Regions from separate parts of the Homo sapiens genome. Here regions 1 and 2 are each linked to region 3. The links are contacts of gene promoters, found by promoter capture Hi-C in blood cells and fetal thymus (Javierre and others, 2016). All regions are on one chromosome and are shown on one strand. The core of a region is centred on a gene start or on the middle of the fragment in contact, and the rest is flanking DNA. Distances in the headings are between cores, read along the strand shown.

What was found. The method cuts DNA at HindIII sites, captures the fragments that hold promoters and counts their contacts. A CHiCAGO score of 5 or more calls a contact.
Region 1: a fragment that was not itself captured here is called in contact with the fragment with the promoter of CAMTA1-DT in region 3 in 1 of 17 cell types (neutrophils); the score reaches 6.1 in neutrophils.
Region 2: the fragment with the promoter of MTOR here is called in contact with the fragment with the promoter of CAMTA1-DT in region 3 in 3 of 17 cell types (monocytes, total B cells and total CD8 T cells); the score reaches 11.1 in monocytes.

The regions. Positions count from the first base shown.
Region 1 is chr1:3,645,863-3,649,195 of GRCh38, reverse strand. It overlaps WRAP73 (WD repeat containing, antisense to TP73), which reads left to right. Exons shown (of 12, transcript NM_017818.4): 2 at 1,636-1,788; 3 at 2,414-2,530. Among named protein-coding and RNA genes, the nearest start is that of WRAP73, 2.6 kb to the left of the region's middle. The HindIII fragment of the contact is 710 bases long and covers 1,378-2,087 here.
Region 2 is chr1:11,260,687-11,264,006 of GRCh38, reverse strand. MTOR (mechanistic target of rapamycin kinase) reads left to right here and starts at 1,456. Exons shown (of 58, transcript NM_004958.4): 1 at 1,456-1,562. RefSeq lists an enhancer at 1,109-1,268 and a silencer at 1,689-1,738. The HindIII fragment of the contact is 974 bases long and covers 1,365-2,338 here.
Region 3 is chr1:6,782,566-6,786,243 of GRCh38, reverse strand. CAMTA1-DT (CAMTA1 divergent transcript) reads left to right here and starts at 1,264. Exons shown (of 3, transcript NR_149049.1): 1 at 1,264-1,586; 2 at 2,021-2,095; 3 at 2,199-2,352. CAMTA1 (calmodulin binding transcription activator 1) reads right to left here and starts at 790. Exons shown (of 23, transcript NM_015215.4): 1 at 669-790. The coding sequence starts at 713. RefSeq lists silencers at 38-217, 228-497, 708-867, 1,208-1,617, 1,748-1,807 and 1 more and enhancers at 1,073-1,747, 1,748-2,424. The HindIII fragment of the contact is 4,377 bases long and covers 1,039-3,678 here.

The sequences.
Region 1 (3,333 bases), core at 483-2,982, 3.1 Mb after region 3:
ATGTACCTGGATGCCTAGTAGTGTATATCCTCAGAAGAGAGGGATAACCCGGATGCCTAGTATGTATGTCCTCAGAAGAGGGGGACAATTGGCATTGGAAAGCCACTAAGAAGAAACATGCCTCGTAAAAAGTGGGCTTCGTTTTCCTTATCCACCACCTGTACTAACTGACTGATGTATCATGATGCTTTTTCAGGTTTTGCCACTCCTGACATTCCTGTGCTCTGTCTAGCTTTTGAGAGTTTAACTCTCAAATTACGTTTTTTACCTCTTCAGGGAGGTTTTATTCCAAATCACATAAAATAGCATCAGCTACAAAACAGAAAACCTCATTAGTTTAAATGGCATCTCAGCCTTGGTATATTTTCAATGTGCCCCCCTCCTCAATTAAATGAGAGGTTTGTTTTTTGTTTTTACCATTTATGAAAATTTCAGTGAATTATAAGGAGAAAGATTACATCTGCTTGCTTAACTTGGGTGTTTTTTTCCAGCTTGTACACTCTGGTCAAAATACCCTGAAACACTTGGTAATGATCTGTTACTGGAATCATCTTCTTGAAAGCCCTGAGGACTGGGGAGAGCAGGTCCATGTTTCTAGTTTTCATATCTTGCAGTAGAGTTTATGTGGTTCCTCAAGGTGTTGGTAAAAATATTCCATTTCATAAGGAATTCACTGTAACTGATCACAGTTTTCAAAGCTACAGTGTGAGAAAGTAAGTGCTGTGGTAGCTCCTTGTTCCAATCTGCCGTCACCCGCCTGTCTCTCTTTTCTCCCACGGAAAACTAACGTGGCTTTCTTTTTTGATATCGGTTCATAAAACACAAACTACTTTGACCTTGATAAGTAAAACTAACGAAGCAGTTAATATTTAAACATCAGTTCTTGATCTTGAAACTGTAGTAAAATATACATTCAGCAGGTGAGTACTCAGGCGTTATTTTTACTTGAAATTGTTTGCTTGGATAGGGACATAATGAACAAATATGGACAAGAAGAAACTATCTTTAAGAAAATAGTACTAACACTTAAACATTTCCCGTTTCGTGTTAGGAATAGGTTAATGGAGATAAATGAGCATTTGCGAAGCATCTTTATGTGTGCAGAAGTGAAAGCCTGTCTTTTGATCTTCTGTTGTTTTGGCTCTGAGTTCGGCACTGCATAAGAAGATTGATGCATTCCTTGCCATTTTCGTTGTCATCTGTGAAGCCTCAATTCTTACCCTTTATAAATTTGAGGAAATTGTCCAAAAGTGTTTATAAAACTAGCAGAGGATTTTGGTTATTAGTTCACAGAAGAGCTTTCTCCCAATGCTACTTCCCATTTAAGTTTAGTTTTTAACATACAGATAAGAAGGGACTTAAAAATGTCTTAAAGCTTTAAGTAGCGAGTTAAAACATACTTTTATACTTTACAATAGAGTATAGCAATATTAAAACCTGGCTTGTATATTTCAACATTACCCTTGTATGAACTGAACTGATCTTTAGGGGCTGGGGATGTCACTGGTGATCTAGACATGAAACCTCTGGCAGGAGAGAAGGCCACAGTCACTGAAGGCCAGGGCAGTAGCATTCCGAAGGCCCCCCTCTTTTGGAGTGGAGAATGTCAGGTGCTTGCTTTCTCATATTTTTTAGGCTTCCTGTGTCCAGTACCGGTTAGTGGTCCGGGATGTGAACACCCTTCAGATCCTTCAGCTGTACACGTGCCTAGACCAGATCCAGCACATCGAGTGGTCGGCAGACTCGCTCTTCATCCTGTGCGCCATGTACAAGCGAGGGCTGGTGCAGGTGTGTGCTGCCGTGTCGCTTAGAATCTGGACACCTTCTGAGGGCCCCTGGGAAGGAGGGGTTTTGTTCTGTGCCTTTCTAGTTTGAAAAAAAAGTCCGTGCAGCTCAAAGCCAGTTTTCTTTTGAAATTATAACGTTCTCTAAAGTTTAAGAACATTTAAACTAAGGAAACTCCAACGTAGTCTTAATTTCTAAGCAATATAGTTGAGAAACGGAGGTGTTGACAGCAATCTAGCCACGCGGATGTGGTGTGTTTCAGGAAGTCCTAAGAAGTCGTGTTTTCTTCTGTGTCCAAAGCTTAACTAAATGAGGTCTTAGGAATGACAATGTGAATAAACAGTTTTAAAACAACAACGAAATGAAATCACCAAGAAGCGTGGCTTACTTTTACACTGGAATCCAGCACCAGCCCTTCATCATGAAAGGTTCTAAAAGACACCCTGTGTGATCGGGTCTCTGCTGGTTTTAAGGGAGTTGTCTCTCGGCGAGGCCTCGCTATAGACTGCTGATGAGTTTGAAGACACCCTGTGCGGTCGGGTCTCCGCTGCGTTTAAGCGAGCTGTCCTCGCTGTCTCTCGGTGCTGATGAGTTTGCACTTGTGTGTTTCTTTCTTCTCTCAATCCAGGTCTGGTCTTTAGAGCAGCCCGAATGGCACTGCAAAATAGACGAGGGCTCAGCCGGGCTGGTGGCCTCGTGCTGGAGCCCGGACGGGCGCCACATTCTCAACACCACGGAATTCCATGTAAGTGTCAGCCCCAAGACACCTTACTGGCCATGTGATCCTGTCCTCTGCTCTCGAAACAGCTGGGGAGTGCGAGAGGGGGTGTGTTTGGAGTATGCTAGTCTCCCCTTATCCTCAGGGGATGCATTCTAAGACCACCAGGGGATTCAGATTGTACCAAACCCTGTATTTCCTGTGTTTTTTCCTATACAGCATACCTGTGATACATTTAATTTATAAATTAGATACAGTAAGAGATTAGCAACAATCATAGTATAGAACAAGGATAACAATATACTGTTTATAATTGCATGGATAGAAGATTTGGTCTTACTGAAGATCTGAGCAACAACCTCAGCATAGGATTTTTTCTTTCCTTGTTGCGTCAAGAACTTTCAGCTCGTCATTTAAAGGAAGCACTTTGTGGCTTCTCTTTGGCGTATCCAGATTGCGAGCCCCACCGCCCGTGCTTTGGGCTGCTACTGAGTCAGATAAGGGTGTCGTGAACACAGGCACTGTCTGCTGCCCTGGGTCTGATGACTGAGGTGGCTCCCGAGTGGCTGGTAGATTGGCGGGGTTGGAGGGAGCCGGGGAGCGTATATAGTGGTGTGTATATTTTAGGTCAGAGCATTATAAGCCACTAAGTATTATTGTCTGATCTTTTGTCCAGTTTTGAAGAAAAAACATTTTAAAAATCTTAATTTAGATTTTTTAGGATTTCGGCACTCCCTTTAATTCAACGATAGAAAATGCGCTGTGATATGAGCCGGCTCGCACCTTTCCTTCAGGAGCCTGGCCTGGGGGCGTGGCTCGGGGCGGTCGGC
Region 2 (3,320 bases), core at 207-2,706, 4.5 Mb before region 3:
TCAAGGGATTTTCCTATCTCAGCCTCCTGAGTAGCTGGCATTACAGGCACCTGCCACCACGCCTACCTTTTTTTTTTTTTTTTTGTATTTTTAGTAAAGACGGGGTTTCACTATGTTGGTCAAGCTGGTCTCAAACTCCTGACCTCATGATCCGCCCGCCTCGGCCTCCCAAAGTGCTGGGATTACAGGTGTGAGCCACCGCGCCCAAACGAATGCATCATATTTTATTGGACTCCTACTTTGAAATATTTAGGAATTTTCAGTGTTTACTATGACAAATAGCACTGTGATTAAAAAAAAATGTAGTCAAATCCACTTTTGCTGTTGATTTTTTTTTTTTTAATCTGTAGAGACATCGTCTCGCTATGTTGCCCAGGCTGGTCTGGAACTCCTGGCCTCAAGCGATCCTCCTGCTTTGGCCTCCCAAAGTGCGTGGGCCACCGTGACCAGCAGTTATTTATTTTCTTTGGTTGTGTGTGTGTGTGTGTGTGTGTGTGTGTGTGTGTGTGTGTATGTATGTATTGAGACGGAGCTTGCTCTGTTGCCCAGGCTAGAGTGCAGTGGCACGATCTCGGTGCATGCAACCTTCACCTCCCGGGTTCAGGCGATACTCGTGCCTCAGCCTCCCGAGTATCTGGGATTACAGGCGTGAGCCACCATGCCCAGCTAATTTTTGTATTTTCAGTAGAGACGGGGGGTGCGGGTGGGGGAATTTCACCATGTTGACCAGGCTGGTCTCGACTCCTGACCTACGGTGATCCGCCTGCCTCGGTCTCCCAAAGTGCTGGAATTATGGGCGTGAGCCACCGCGCCGGGCCAGCTATTGATTTTTTGAAAGGATTTTTAAAAAATAATGTTGCTTTGAAAATTTTTATTTATGACTAGCTCTTTTGGTTAAAACTTGGCTATGGTTTCTCTGGAGTGATCCTGAGTTGGATAATTTTGGGAAAGTTAGAGAATCTAATTAAAAACATTTTCAAATGCTTATTAATTGTAACAAAAGAGATATCACAGGATCCATAAAGAGCGCTAGCCCGAAACGTCTTTTGATGCAGTAATTCCTGGGCACCGGCATCGCTCACATTCTCCTCTCAGAATTACACCGGGAGGGGTCGCGAACCTCTGCTAGCCGCTCTCGCTGCGATCCGGAGATACCCAGACACCGGACTCCTTGAGTTCACAGCCCGGATGCAGAAGGGAATCCTAGCAGCGCCGTACCGGATGTGTGAGTGGAAGTGACTGAGGTGAACTCACGACCGATTGGTTCTCCCGAGTGGACCCAAGCCTGTTTTCACCTGCCACTGGCCGCGTGGTTTGTCTATTTGAACAGTCCCCGCCCCCTGGAGAAGCCGGGTCCTGAAGCTTCTCTTCTTCATTACTATTGGCCTGTTTTTCAGTCCATCTTCTCCCTATACCTGTCGATTGGTCCTCAGGGCTGGGAACCCTCCTTCCCTCGCTCCCGGCTTAGAGGACAGCGGGGAAGGCGGGCGGTGGGGCAGGGGGCCTGAAGCGGCGGTACCGGTGCTGGCGGCGGCAGCTGAGGCCTTGGCCGAAGCCGCGCGGTGAGTCTAGGGCCTGGCACGACCCCTCTAGGGCGGCGTAATGTCCAGACCCACGGCCAGCCTGCCCGTGGGGGGGCCAGGGGAAGCCGCCCGTCTGGGACGTGGGGTCCCCACATTGCCGGCCCCACGACCTGGGCACCGTCTGAGGCCTTGACTCCCACCCCTCGAGGCAACGCCCACCTCCCCGGGACCCCCAAGAGACCCCTGGACCCTTCGGCCCGCGGTACGTCCGCCCGAAGGCCGGCCCATCAGCTCTGGTATTGCCCTTTGGGTCTTTTGCCTGTCACAGCCACCCTTTCTTTTGAGCCACGTATAAAAATTGTGTATCTCTGCCCCAGGGAACACTAGCGTCCGTGTCAGCCCCTTGTCCTCCACTGTGGACACCTCTCAGAGATCCAGTCCCCGAAACTGAGCTTGGTTACATCGTTGGGGTACATCTTCTCTCCCTCTCCCCCAGCCCCATCCCTGTTTCCCCCATCCAATCTTAACTTCCTTAAGCCCTATCAACACCATTAGGATATTTGACTTCAGATATCCTAAGTTTAATTGAATTCAGTCTGGAGCAGATGGCCTGTGGGCCTCAGATCATATAAAGATACACTGGTTCTTTCCTGAGAATAGAAATCCCTTGCCAGCCACCTTCCCCCCTTTCGGACGCACACACATACACACAAACTGGAGTAGTTTTCTTAGCAGGGATTCTTAAGTTTCTTCTCCCCTAAAGGATGACATTTCTTTCTGCAGTCTTCTTCTTGGCAGTGGAGTATTTGAAAGCTTTACAAAACCAATTATTCCCAGGTTTTTCCTCTGTGCCTTACAAATTCTTTCAAAAATAAGAATTTTGAGAAATTGGTTTTGTAGCATAAGCTGAACATACTTGGGATAGGTGTATGTTACACCCATGGCAGTGTGGGCATAATTGAGGAATGAGGGAATGAGCTCAGGAACTAATTGGTGTTTTTTGTTTTGTTTTGAGACGGAGTTTCGCTCTGTCGCCCAGGCTGGAGTGCAGTGGCTCGATCTCTGCTCACTGCAAGCTCCGCCTCCCGGGTTCCCGCCATTCTCCTGCCTCAGCCTCCCGAGTAGCTGGGACTACAGGCGCCCGCCACCATACGGCTAATTTTTTTTTTTTTTTGTATTTTTAGTAGAGGCGGGATTTCACCGTGTTGGCCAGGATGGTCTCGATTTCCTGACCTCGTGATCCGCCCGCCTCGGCCTCCCAAACCCGGCCAGGAACTAATTACTTTCTTTTAGCTTACATTTGAAGAGCTAGTCCCCTGTAGAACTGCGTTGTTCAGTACAAGAACCACCAGCCACATGTGGCTGTGGAGCACTTGAAATGTGACTAGTCCAGGCCGGGCATGGTGGCTCACACCTGTAATCCCAGCACTTTGGGAGGCCAAGGCGGGCAGATCACCTGAGGTCAGGAATTTGAGACCAGCCTGGCCAACATAATAAAACCCCATCTCTACTAAAAACACACAAAAATTAGCCAGGCGTGGTGCTGCACATCTGTAGTCCCAGCTACTCGGGAAGCTGAGGCAGGAGAATCATTTGAACCCGGGAGGTGGATGTTGCAGTGAGCCGAGATCATGCCACTGCACTCCAGCCTGGGTGACAGAGCGAGACTCTGTCTCAAAAAAAAAAAAAAAAATGACTAGTCCAAATTGACATTGTTGTAAGTGTAAAATGCACATTAGATTTTGAAGACTCGCTAAAAAAAAAGAATGGACACTATATCAATTTTTTAAATATTGA
Region 3 (3,678 bases), core at 15-2,514:
GGTCACACGAGGCCCTTCGGCCGAGGGACGCTCGGCAGGACGGGGTCCCCCTGGCGGGGAGAAGCTCGGGGACCCCCCGCCCGCTCAGGGAGGTGTCCACGGGGCTGAAGAGGGTGCCGGAGAGAGTACATCTGGCCCTGCCCGCCGGAGAGCAGGGGGCCGGCGAGGGCTGAGCGCCGGCCGCTGCCGCCCGACGGGGACCGGCCCGGAGCAGTGGGGCGCGGGGCCAGGAGGACCCGAGGCGGATAAACTTTCCGCCCCGCGGCCCCCACCGTGGACCCAGCGCCGGGGGTGCGGGGGCCGCGCAGCGGGCTCGGGAGCGGCGGGGATGCCCGGTCCGGGTGGGGGAGGCGCCGGCCCTCCGCCGGCTCCTCCTCCTCGCTGGGCCCGGTCCCCGCCCCGCGAGCCCCCCGCCCCCTCCGGCCCCAGCCCGCCCCCGGGGGTGGGGTGTGGGGCGCCGCGCTCCGCCGGCCCCGCGAGTCACCTCAGGACTCGGCCGCGCTCCGCCCCCCCACCCCGCCGGCCCCCTCCCCGGCCGGGTCGCCCGCCCGCCCGCCCGCCGCGCCCCCGCGCTCCCGCCCGGCGCCGCCGATGCCCGGGATGTCCGGCGGGGCCGGGTCCCGCCGCCCGCCGCGCCGCCCCCCAGCCCCTCGCGCTCCGGCTCTTACCTTCCGGCTTGTTTTCGGCAGCCATTTCCCCTCCGCGCGCCACATCCTCCTCCTCCTCGCGACCGGGACCCCGAGCGCGCGCCTCGTACCGCCGCCGCCGCCGGCCCAGCCACCCCGCCGCCGCCGCGCACCCGCCCTGGCCCCGCCCCGCGGCCCACGCACAGCTCCCGTTGGGCCGTGCGGCTGCCACTCATCGCTCCCGCCGCCAATCGCCCCGCACCAGGGGTCTCACTACTCTCCGGGAGGAGCGTCCTATCCATCCGGCCCATTGGCTGGTCACCACCCAACGGACTGAAAGGATTGGTCAAGAATCAACGCCCCCTCCCCACCCACTCCCAGGAAAGCCCGCCTTCCGGACCTAAACAAAGCTTCCTAGTGGCCAGAACCCGAAAGAACTGTCCAATCAGGACGGGCCCGACACGGAATATTTCCTCGAGGCCGAGACGTGGCGTTTTGATTGGGCGTCACTACAGTGTTTCCCAGGCCGTCCAGACCAATCAAAGGGGGTTCCCGGAACTCGGGAGCGGCGAAGGGAAGCCCCGCCCCCGAGCGTGACCGTCATGAGGAAGGCGCTCCCTCATTGGCACGCTGGGGCTTTTCCCGCGTGCTCCCGGGGCTGAAGGACGTTCCCGGGGAAGCCGCTGCTGGCGCGTGGGGTCCCGGTGGCTGTGGGGGACGCGCCGGGATCTCCGGGATCCCGCAGCCCGCCGCCGCTGCCGGTGGGGAGCCGGACGCGGGGGGCCTCGGGGCTGAGGTCCGCAGGGGTGCCGCGCCCTGGAGTCCGACTGCCTAGGAGTCCGGGCGTCGCTGCCGGCCGTGGGGGAGGGGCGAGCCTCCCGCCAGGCCCCGCCCCCTCGGCGCCGCGTCCCCACGGCCCCGGCGCCGCCCGCCTGCGCCCGCCTCCTGTGCCCGCCCCCGGTGAGCTCCGTTGTCCCCTTTTCTGGCGGCTTAAAATACCGAAACTTTATTTTGGTCACGTTGCCCATGTGACCCGCGGAGCGGATGACTCATGGTTGCCTGTCCCAGGATGAGGCCGCCGGCCGAAAGCAGAGAAGCGCCAGCCCCGGCCGCCCGGGTGGAGCGCTGGGCAGCCGAGTTTCCCACCCTCCTCAATCCGGAGAGTCCGCGCGGGGCTTTTCCTAATAAATAGCCAGGCACCCGCTGCCCTCGCGCTGCGTACGGGAGCACGTGCCCCCCGGGAGGTGGGCGCCCGCCAGGTGCCCCGGGAACGAGCCTAGGAACCGGGTCCGCCGAGTGCGGCTCTCGGGGCGGCTAGGCGTGCGGGTGGCTGGGCAGCGCTCCCAGGGACCGGCCTCTCTCCGGAGAAAGTAAGGAATTCTGCTCCTGGGCAGGTAATACCGGAAACAAAAGGAGAGGCTGCAATCGCAAATTGTTTAAAAAGAAGAAAAAGGAAAGAAAAGTTGAATGTAAGAGCTCCAGCCCCTCAATGTGATCTTGTACGGTTTGCAGTAAGAACATTTCATTCTTCCGCATTTTATTTTTCCTTTTGCTACTGTTGGTGACAACTAGCAAAATAAGTGAAAAATCCTCGTTCAAGTGTTCTGGCATTAAGATTGACTGTCACACTGAATTCTGTGCCAATCCTAACAACATGTGTTCTTTTTCTGGTCTTCACAAGTAAGAATGTCTTAGGTTTTCCAGAAATAAAGATGTCCCAAAAGAATGTTTTGTGTTACACACTCATTCTTCAAGAAACTTTAATTTTATGAGCCTCAAAAATTGCAAAATTTTAACAACGGCGGGACAATATTTTATCGATTAGCATTCTTAATAGCACCTATGTTGACGATTTGTGTGGAGAAACGGATTCTTAAAAGAAGTGCTGGTGGCATTGTAAATTAGTATATTCCTTTCGAAAAGCAATTTTACAGTATGTATTAAAAGCCATAAAAATGTCTGCATCTTTTGACCCAGTGATCTTACTTCTGGGAATCTGTTCTAAGGAAATAACACTAAATGCCAGAAAAGCTGTATGTGTGAAGGTATTCTTCACAGGATCACTGTACTTAACTACAACAAAAAATTGGGAGCATCCTACATGTGCTAATATTGGGTATTTAGTAAATTGTGTTACATCTACACAGTGGAACATTATGGTAGTTGTAGACATCAGAAACAGAAAATCACCCATTGCTAGATAGAGGGGGCAATACCCAAAATTATGGTGTTCATTTATGAGGTGAGATGATAGGCTAAAAAAACTGCATTTTAAAAAAGACCGATACAGGCCGGGTGCAGTGGTTCACGCCTGTCAATCCTAGCACTTTGGGAGGCCAAGGTGGGCAGATCACTTGAAGCCAGGAGTTCGAGACCAGCCTGGCCAGCATGACAAAACCCCGTCTCCACTAAAAATATAAAAATTAGGTGGGCAAGGTGGCAGGCGCCTGAGGTCTCAGCTACTTGGAAGGCTGAGGCAAGAGAATTGCTTGAACCCAGCGGGCAGAGGTTGCAGTGAGCCAATATCGCACCACTGCACTCCAGCTTGGGTGACAAGAGCAAGACTCCACCTCAAAAAAAAAAAAAATAGACTGATAACATACACCAAATAAATGACGTATGGGGGATTATAAGTGAGTTTTTTTTAATTGCCTATTTTCTATAATATAGCTGTTTTTGTTGTTGTTTTTTGGTTTTTTTTTTGTTTTGTTTTTTTGAGATGGAGTTTCACTCTTGTTGTCCAGGCTGGAGTTCAATGGCGCAATCTCGGCTCACCGCAACCTCTGCCTCCCGGGTTCAAGCGATTCTCCTGCCTCAACCTCCAGAGTAGCTGGGATTACAGGCATGCGCCACCATGCTCAGCTAATTTTGTATTTTTAATAGAGACAGGGTTTCTCCATGTTGGTCAGGGTGGTCTCAAACTCCCAACCTCCAGTGATGCGCCTGCCTCAGCCTCCCAAAGTGCTGGGATTACAGGCATGAGCCACCACGCCTGGCCTCTATGTTACTTTTATCATTAAAACACTCATTTAAATTGAAAGAAAGGTGAATA